3 separate regions of the Homo sapiens genome follow, and regions 1 and 2 are each linked to region 3. The links are contacts of gene promoters, found by promoter capture Hi-C in human tissues and cell types (Jung and others, 2019). All regions are on one chromosome and are shown on one strand. Each heading gives the region's core, a stretch centred on a gene start or on the middle of the fragment in contact. The rest is flanking DNA. Distances are from core to core; before and after follow the strand shown.

Evidence for each region. Contacts are between HindIII fragments. The study calls those that stand out against the background at their distance.
Region 1: a fragment that was not itself captured here is called in contact with the fragment with the promoter of JPH3 in region 3 in 2 of the 25 tissues and cell types used here (IMR-90 fibroblasts and small bowel).
Region 2: a contact is called between a fragment that was not itself captured here and the fragment with the promoter of JPH3 in region 3, in 2 of the 25 tissues and cell types used here (H1 embryonic stem cells and IMR-90 fibroblasts).

What each region holds. Positions count from the first base shown.
Region 1 is chr16:87,455,868-87,458,567 of GRCh38, forward strand. The region is part of intron 2 of ZCCHC14 (zinc finger CCHC-type containing 14); the gene reads right to left. Among named protein-coding and RNA genes, the nearest start is that of ZCCHC14, 36 kb to the right of the region's middle. RefSeq lists an enhancer at 1,306-2,505. The HindIII fragment of the contact is 7,552 bases long and covers 1-2,700 here.
Region 2 is chr16:87,357,045-87,359,744 of GRCh38, forward strand. The region is part of intron 2 of FBXO31 (F-box protein 31); the gene reads right to left. Among named protein-coding and RNA genes, the nearest start is that of FBXO31, 25 kb to the right of the region's middle. The HindIII fragment of the contact is 3,111 bases long and covers 1-2,700 here.
Region 3 is chr16:87,601,143-87,603,842 of GRCh38, forward strand. JPH3 (junctophilin 3) reads left to right here and starts at 1,366. Exons shown (of 5, transcript NM_020655.4): 1 at 1,366-2,386. The coding sequence starts at 2,005. It overlaps LOC124903750 (a long non-coding RNA gene), which reads right to left and starts at 1,041. Exons shown (of 2, transcript XR_007065172.1): 1 at 870-1,041. RefSeq lists an enhancer at 1-467. The HindIII fragment of the contact is 15,663 bases long and covers 1-2,700 here.

The DNA of each region.
Region 1 (2,700 bases), core at 73-2,572, 150 kb before region 3:
TGTTAGATAATTTTGCCCACCTGCAGGCTAATGCAAGCGTTCTGAGCACATTTAAGGTAGGCTAGGCTAAGCCATGATGTGTAGCAGGTGTGGTGTATTCACTGCATTGCAACTTGTGGTATTTTCAACTTGCAGCCCCCACTGTAAGTTGAAAAGCATCTATGCGGTAAAATGGAACTGTCTAATCTAGGTGAAGGGTACTCACTGTGAAACTTTTTCAACTTTACCGTGTGTTTCAAAGTCCTCATAATAAAATGTTAGATAAAGAACCCATAAGGAAATTGAAACTATCAAGGCTTCTCGATTTCGGCTACACACTGGAATCCCAGCACAACCCAGGAAAGGCCACAGACTGTGGGCATTTTAGAATTTAGATTTTAGGGCTGGGCGCAGTGGCTCACGCCTGTAATCCCAGCACTTTGGGAAGCCGAGGCGGGCGGATCACGAGGTCAGGAGATCGAGACTATCCTGGCTAACACGGTGAAACCACGTCTCTACTAAAAATATAAAAAAATAGCCGGGCGTGGTGGCCGGCACCTGTAGCCCCAGCAGCTACTCCGGAGGCTGAGGCAAGAGAATGGCGTGAACCCGGGAGGCGGAGGTTGCAGTGAGCTGTGATTGCGCCACTGCACTCCAGCCTGGGCGACAGAGCAAGACTCTGTCTCCAAAAAAAAAAAAAAAAAAAAAAAAAAAAAATTTAGATTTTAGGTGAATTCTTGTCTTCTTAGAATTCATGTTCTAATTGGTTGGGATAGATTTTGTTTTGGAGTTTGGTCTTTAGCTCTCTTCAGCTGTAACAACGCTGCATGGCAAACACAAACCCCAGGGGCACACAATGGAAAACATTCATTTAAAATAATTTTTAAAAACTCAGTTTTAATCGATAATATGGTAAATACCTATAGATGTGACCCACATAAACATGGATTCTTTGGAATCTCTAATTTTTAAGAGTGCAAAGGGGTCCTAAGACCAAAAAGATTGAAAACTACTGGTATATAAACAAGTTTAATGAAAGTATACCTCCTTCACTGTCTCACAAAAAGAAAACTTTAAAAAATTATAATTCCTCAAAGTCCAAAGTTACAGAACTTACTTTGTTGAGAGTATTAGTAAAAGCAGTTTCCATCTCAGCTTGTACACTACAACAGCTTCCCTAAGTTTCAGTAAATCATCAACACAGGGACTGGAGCGCTGGAGAGTGCACCGCAGTTCTCAGCCACACCCACGAGGGGCAGGGGGCTCAGAAGCCACACACAGTGACCTGGAGCTGCAGCCAGGCACTGGGTACGGGGTTTACTAGGCTACAATCTCTACTCCTGAACTGGAAAATGTTCACAATAAATAGGTCAGGAAAAAAAGGAATGATTTCACTGGTTAATGTGTACTCATAGGCACTGCCCACACAACGGTGTGTTTTCCACTTTCAGTACAGTCCCACCTTTCTTTTCCTCTGCTATTTTCTTCAGCCAGCCACAGGGTTAAGAGCATTAGCTCTGGCTTTGAATCCCAGCTGACCTCAGGAAAATTTCTTATCTGTGACTCAGTTCTCCCATCTGTAAAATGGGGTAAAAATCACCACATGGGATCAGTTAGAATTAAATAGGTATAATCAGCCCTCAAAGGGCTGTTATGAAGATGATGTAAGTCAGTATCTGTCATGTAAGTTAGTCATGTGCTTGGACTGTTGTTCAAGTATATAAAAGCTTCCCTAACCTTTTACATACTAAGAAATTTTTTAAATGTCTGACCACTCTATAAATTAAACTGTATCACTGTAAGACTTCTGAAGAAGCAGAGAAAAACCAAAACAGAAGTAGGATACAGAAAAGACAGAGAGAAAACTTTATAGTAATAAAACTATACAACTTACTGTGACTTTAGACTTTCTGAAGGGCAATAACCTGCACCCAACAGAATATTAAAAGGATTCACATGAAAAGTGACTAAGAAAACCAAGTTAACTCACTTGCCAATTTCCGGACAACAGAAACCGCGACCCTCTATGACTAATGAATGGAGAATGCTGCAGGTAATTAAGAGCGTCTGCTCGCTGCGGTATTTTAAGCACTGTGGGGTTTGAGAATGACCACTCGTGGCCTCAGAGCCGACCCGCCAGCCTACGCAGGCTTTGCCACAGCTCACATGAGAGTCAGCTCACCCTCTGTCTCTCTGGGCACCAAAGCATGCAGACGAGACAATGACAGATACTCGCTACTTTGAAATTATACAGAAAAAAAAAAAAAAGAATGGGGATGTCAATAATTACATCCTGAAGAAAAAGCACTGAAGGGTCCATCCCTTAAGATTCACAGGGTGTGCAGGGCACAGGTTCCTAGGCTGGACTGTCTGGGGACAAAGGAAGCGGCACTCCACGGCAGGCCTTTCTCCTGGGATGGCATGGGGGAAGGAAGAGGAGGAGCCCTTTCTACAGCGGAGGGACTCCCTGCAATTCCGACGCCAAGTGTCCGCTCTGGGGTTGGAGCATCGCGGCATCACCAGGATGAGGGTGCGGTGAAGACGCTCAACCAAGAGCCACAGACCCTCCCAAGAGCAGTGGATAAGACAAAGACTGTTGCGACCTCAGGGGGTTGCTACGAGGGTCAAGTGGGGACAGGAGCCCTCGCAGGGCTGCAGTAAGGAGTTACTGTCTCCATACCATACCGTGCTCATTACATCAACAGAGGCTGCAGCTGCTGG
Region 2 (2,700 bases), core at 195-2,694, 240 kb before region 3:
AGACCAGCCTGGGCAACATAGTGAGACCCGTCACTACAAAAAACTGAAAAATTAACCAGGCATGGTGGCACACGCCTCTAGTCCCAGCTACTAGGGAGGCTGAGGCAGGAGGATCGCTTCAGCCCAGGAGTTCAAGGATACAATGAGCTGTAATTGTGCCACTGCACTCCAACCTGGGCAACAAGACAGACCCTGTCTCAAAAAAAAAAAGTGGAGACAGCATTAAATTCCTATAACTGTGGCTTAGAAAAATTTCCAGAGCTCCATCAAAAGAATTCGGTTCTTTTTTTTTTTTTTTTTTTGAGACAGAGTCTCGCTCTTGTCTCCCAGGCTGGAGTGCAATGGCGTGATCTCGGCTCACTGCAACCTTCACCTCCCGGGTTCAAGCGATTCCCCCACCTCAGCCTCTGGGTACCTGGGATTACAAGCACACGCCACCACACCCAGCTAATTTTTGTACTTTTAGTAGAGATGAGTTTCACCATGTTGGCCAGACAGGTCTCGAACTCCTGACCTCAGATGATCCACCTGCCTCGGCCTCCCAAAGCACTGGGATTACAGGCATTAGCCACCATGTCTGGCCAAAAAGAAGAATTAAGTTCTAAAGAGTCAACTGTTAGCCAGGCACGGTACCTCATGCCTGTAATCCCAGAACTCTGGGAGGCCGAGATGGGCAGATCACTTGAGACCAGCCTGGCCAACATGATGAAACCCCATCTCTACTAAAAATACAAAAAAATTTGCTGGGCATGGTGGTGTATGCCTGTAATCCTAGCTACCTGGGAGGCTGAGGTGGCAGTATTACTTGAACCGAGGAGGCAGAGGTTGTGACACTGCACTCCAGCTTGGGTGACAGAGTGAGACTCTGCCTCAAAAAAAAAAAAGGAGTCAACTGTTGCTACCTGCCTTTGTCTATTGAGGGTATATGCATATGTGATTTTTAATTCACATAGGCTATTAAAATGTGATTAAAACTAATAAAGGTCAGAAGTCAAATATTCATATTTCACTTTAGAATAAAATTTTAAAGCTTCTACTCTGTTCGTTCCTCTCTGTGTCTGCAGTAGCTCCTCAATAAACGATACATGTGAAAATGTGCATTAAAGTGATCTCGACTGGTAGTACCCAGAAACCACTGCAGAAAGGTAAGCCAAATGCAGCCTGGGTCCAACACACAGGTGTGATCTCTGTCACAGCTGAAGCAGAGCCACGCTGCAGCAAGTGAACGTGAAAGGATGACAAAAAGCCACGAGGTCCGCTTGCTCCAGGACCAAAGCTGTCCCATGTGTGAATCAGAGGGCCCTCCCCATGCAGTTCTTGGCCGTGCTGGCTGCCGCAGAAGCCAAAGCTCGCAGGAGGTACATACGGCAGGTGTAAACGTCTCTGTACGCCATGTGCTCATAATCAGGGAGAATTTTCACAAAACGTCCCGACTTCACGCGAGGGTTTATACCTGAACAGACACAGCAGGGAAAGGGCTAAGGATGGCTCCCTTTACAGGACTGTGCAAACAGCGTGAATACGACCCAATGCCTGCCCCTCACCAGTGTGATACAATCCCCTCGTGTTTATGCAGCCACCCAGGACACAGAGAGGTGGCTCTGAGAAACCTGCTGGAGAGAACAACACTGTGACACGTTTTCCTTCCATCAGTGGTGCCACCAGAAACTCACGGTGGCAGCAAGCTTGGAAATCCTTTCCATATTTGATCACACTCCTCCCGGGGCCAGCACACTCCCGGCAGGCCCCAGGCCACAGCTCACTGGGGCTCAGGAGGTGGGAGGGCAGGTGTCCTGGCAGGTGAGCATCTGGGATGACCGTCTAGAGAACACTTACCCCGGCTAACATACTCACTTTGCCCAGCACCCACCTGGCGTTTCCCAGCCTGCTAACTCAGGCCAGCCTCGTCACAGGTCATCCAAGGTTGCCCAACTACACCACCCGTTTCTGGAGCTAAGGCTGATTTTCTTCCACCACCTGTTCCCAAAGCTAAGTAATTTTCTCCTGGATAAGCCTTAAAGCAAATTCACAGAAACACAGTTGCTGCGCTGTGAAAATGAACACTGACATTTGCTTTGGCCACTGCAGACTAACACTGCGGGGAATAAACACTGTCGGAAACAGATCATGTGAATTCTCCGCATTTTGCAAACACTTTCAAGGGGTCAAGAATCAGCAGTGAAAAGAAATCTCCCAATGCCCTGTCCTCCTATCCCCTCTTCTGTGCCCACCCCCTGCCCTACCCTCGGCCACACTGCCTCCTGCCTGCCTATGCCCGGATGGCCTCTCCCACAGGACAGGAGGACTCAGTGCTCAGGCAACACCTCCGACCCCCACAGCTGGAAGGAGCATCCATGTGTACACTCCTATGGCTGTTACAGGAAACCCTAACACCTGGGCAGGCCAAACACCTGTGTCCCTACCGGGACATGACTTTTGGTGCTGACAACTCTTAGAGAGAAATATGTCTTCATGTCACTTTGAGATGATATGACCCAAATGGCCTAAGAAACTCAAAGAGCAACTGCCTTGCAGAAATGAAAAAGAAAAAAGAAAAGAAGCTCAAAGAATGGTCAGAAGATGAAAACGTGGGGTATGAGACACTCACAGAAACCCTCTGACCATCCAAAAAAGCCAAGAGCTTCGTCCAGTGAGCAAGAAATGGGAAAGTCCCTGGCACTGAAGAAACACCCGCGGGAA
Region 3 (2,700 bases), core at 116-2,615:
AATGAATCACTGTAACTGCACAAAACAAAACAAAGCCGACCGCCCTAAATGTTCCTCATTGACAGTGGGTGTATGAGGAGGTGACTGTCCTCCTGGCTGCTGGTACTCTGGGGAGGGAGCTTTGGTGCCCAAGGCAAGAGACTGAGGTTGAACTCTGGGACTCCCAGGAGGGGCTGATTTTTCTGAGAGCCCCGTGAGCCAAGAGTGGGGACCATCCTGATTCTCTCGGACAGGGGAAGATCTGAGCAGGGCTCCTGGCTGATTGGAGGCTCCGAATCGCACCTCTTCTCCTGTCCTAATCTCAGGCTCCAGGCCTGGCTTGCAGTTTCTGGCTCACCGCGCTGCGGTCACCGGCCCACACTCCCAGGAGCGAGGACCCTGGGCAGCCTCCACACCCCCATCAGCCCACTGCACCGGTCTGCTGCCATTTCCCGCACGCATTTCAGGAGGGCTGGGGACGCCGGCTTCTGCCTGAGGATTTATGGTCCAGGAAATGCATTTTAAATGGATCCCAGGATGCTCGGATCCAAGAATCAGACTCTCTCTTGTGCGTGGGAAGAGGGGCGGAGGGTGAGAGTATGTCTGGAGAGAGACCTAGAAACGCCCGAATGGCGGTCCCACTTTGCTCCCCAAAAGCGCGACCGTTCCCCGAGTGGGGGGGCGCTACCTGTTGGCCAGGGCGCAGGGCGCACGGAATTCGGGTGACTTTGCTCCAAGATACACGCGTGTGTCCCGACTCTCACTCAATTTATAGGGGAGAGGGACTCGCCAAATCCCTGTTTTCTGGGGTAAGCCCCCCTCCCCCCACTCTTGGACCCAAGCTGCCCGGAAGGAAGAAGGAAGCATTGTTTGTCACCGGAGAAAACCACCTGTGGTTTGCAAAGGGCCTCAGTCGAGTCAGGGGCAGGCGGGGCAGATCCGAGCCCGGCGGGAGGGGCGAGGCGCGGGGGCGGGCAGGGGCGAGGGTAGGGGCGCTCAGCTGGCAGGTCCTGCTCTGCAGGCCTCACCGCCCAGCTCCCGGGAGGGGGCCGAGGGCGCCCTGAGTGCTGCGCGCCTTCCCATGACGCAGTTCCTGTGCCTTTAAATCCCACTCCCGGAGGGGGCGGGGGCGCCCCGGCTGGACCCCGGTTTCCAGTCCGGCGGGGGCCCCGGGGAAGCCCAGGGCGGGGAGCGCGGGGCTGGGGGCGCGGAGGGCGGGGCGCCCGGGGTCCCCGCCCGCGCGCCGCGCCCTAGCCTGCTGGGCCGCGCCCCTCTTGGGACCGCCGCGCTCCGGGGGCGGGGGCGGGGGCGGGGGCGGGGGGCGGGGGGCGGGGGGCGGGCGGGGGCGCGCGGGCGGGCGGGGTGCGGGCGCGCGCCGCGCGGCCCGAGCGCGCGAGCCGGGCCCGGAGCGCACGCCGCCGCCGCCACCGCCGCCGCCGCCGCCCGAGCCGCCGCATTGCTGCTGCTGCTGCCGCCGCCGCCCCGCGCCCGGCCCGCGGCCCCCAATATGGTGCAGCCGCCAGCGCCGCCGCCCGTGCCGCCGCCGCCGCCCGCGGGCCCCGCCGCCGCCCTCGGGCGCCCGCAGCGCGGCAGCCGCAGGTGGGGGGCCGCGGCCCGGGCCTGAGCTGCCCCCCGCCCGGCCTCGGCGCGGCGCCCTCCCCGCGGGGCTGCCGGCGAGGGGCCCTCTCGCCGCTGAGGTGGAGCCGCGGGCCCCGCCGCCGCCGCTCCTGCCCCCTCCCTCCCTCCTCCCCTCCCCCTCCCCTCCGGTCCTGTCTCCAGCGGGAGCGCGAGACGCTGGTCAGGCTCCGCGGCGCAGCTCGAAAAGGAATAATCGCCCCCGATTGACTGAAATTCCTCCGGAGCCGGCGCCGCGGCCGCCCGCGCCCGAGACCGCGCTCCGGGGCCGCGTCCTCCTCTCCTCCGGAAAACGCTCGCGACCCAGGGCCGCCGGCGGCCGCGACTCTGCTGTGTCGATCGCCTGAGTCCGTTTTCACCGTTTGCGGGATCTGGAACCGAGTTACATGCATGTCCAGTGGGGGCAGGTTTAATTTTGACGACGGAGGGTCCTACTGTGGAGGCTGGGAGGACGGCAAGGCGCACGGCCATGGCGTCTGCACCGGCCCCAAGGGCCAAGGCGAATACACCGGCTCGTGGAGCCACGGCTTCGAGGTGCTGGGCGTCTACACCTGGCCCAGCGGCAACACGTACCAGGGCACCTGGGCGCAGGGCAAGCGCCACGGCATCGGCCTGGAGAGCAAGGGGAAGTGGGTGTACAAGGGCGAGTGGACGCACGGATTCAAGGGGCGCTACGGGGTGCGGGAGTGCGCGGGCAACGGGGCCAAATACGAAGGGACCTGGAGCAACGGGCTGCAGGACGGCTACGGGACCGAGACCTACTCGGACGGAGGTAGGTGCCGCGGGCCGGGCCGGGCCGGGGCGGGAGGGACGTGCTTCCGATCGCGCCCCTTCTGTGGATCTCTGGGGAAGTTGAGCTGCGTCCTCCGGTTGGGCCGTGGGCACCAGGGGCCTTTCCCGGGCTTCCCTGGAAGCCACGGCGGCTCCTGGCTACAGGTTGCCCCGCTGCCTGGTGGGGACAGTGCCCCTGTGCCAGCTGAAGGGTGTTGGGGGCTTTCCAGGGGCAGAGCCAGGCGGGGCCCAGCAGAGCCTCCGTGCGTCGGACACAGCAGGCCGGAGACCTGCGGGAAGGGCCAGGCTGGGCCC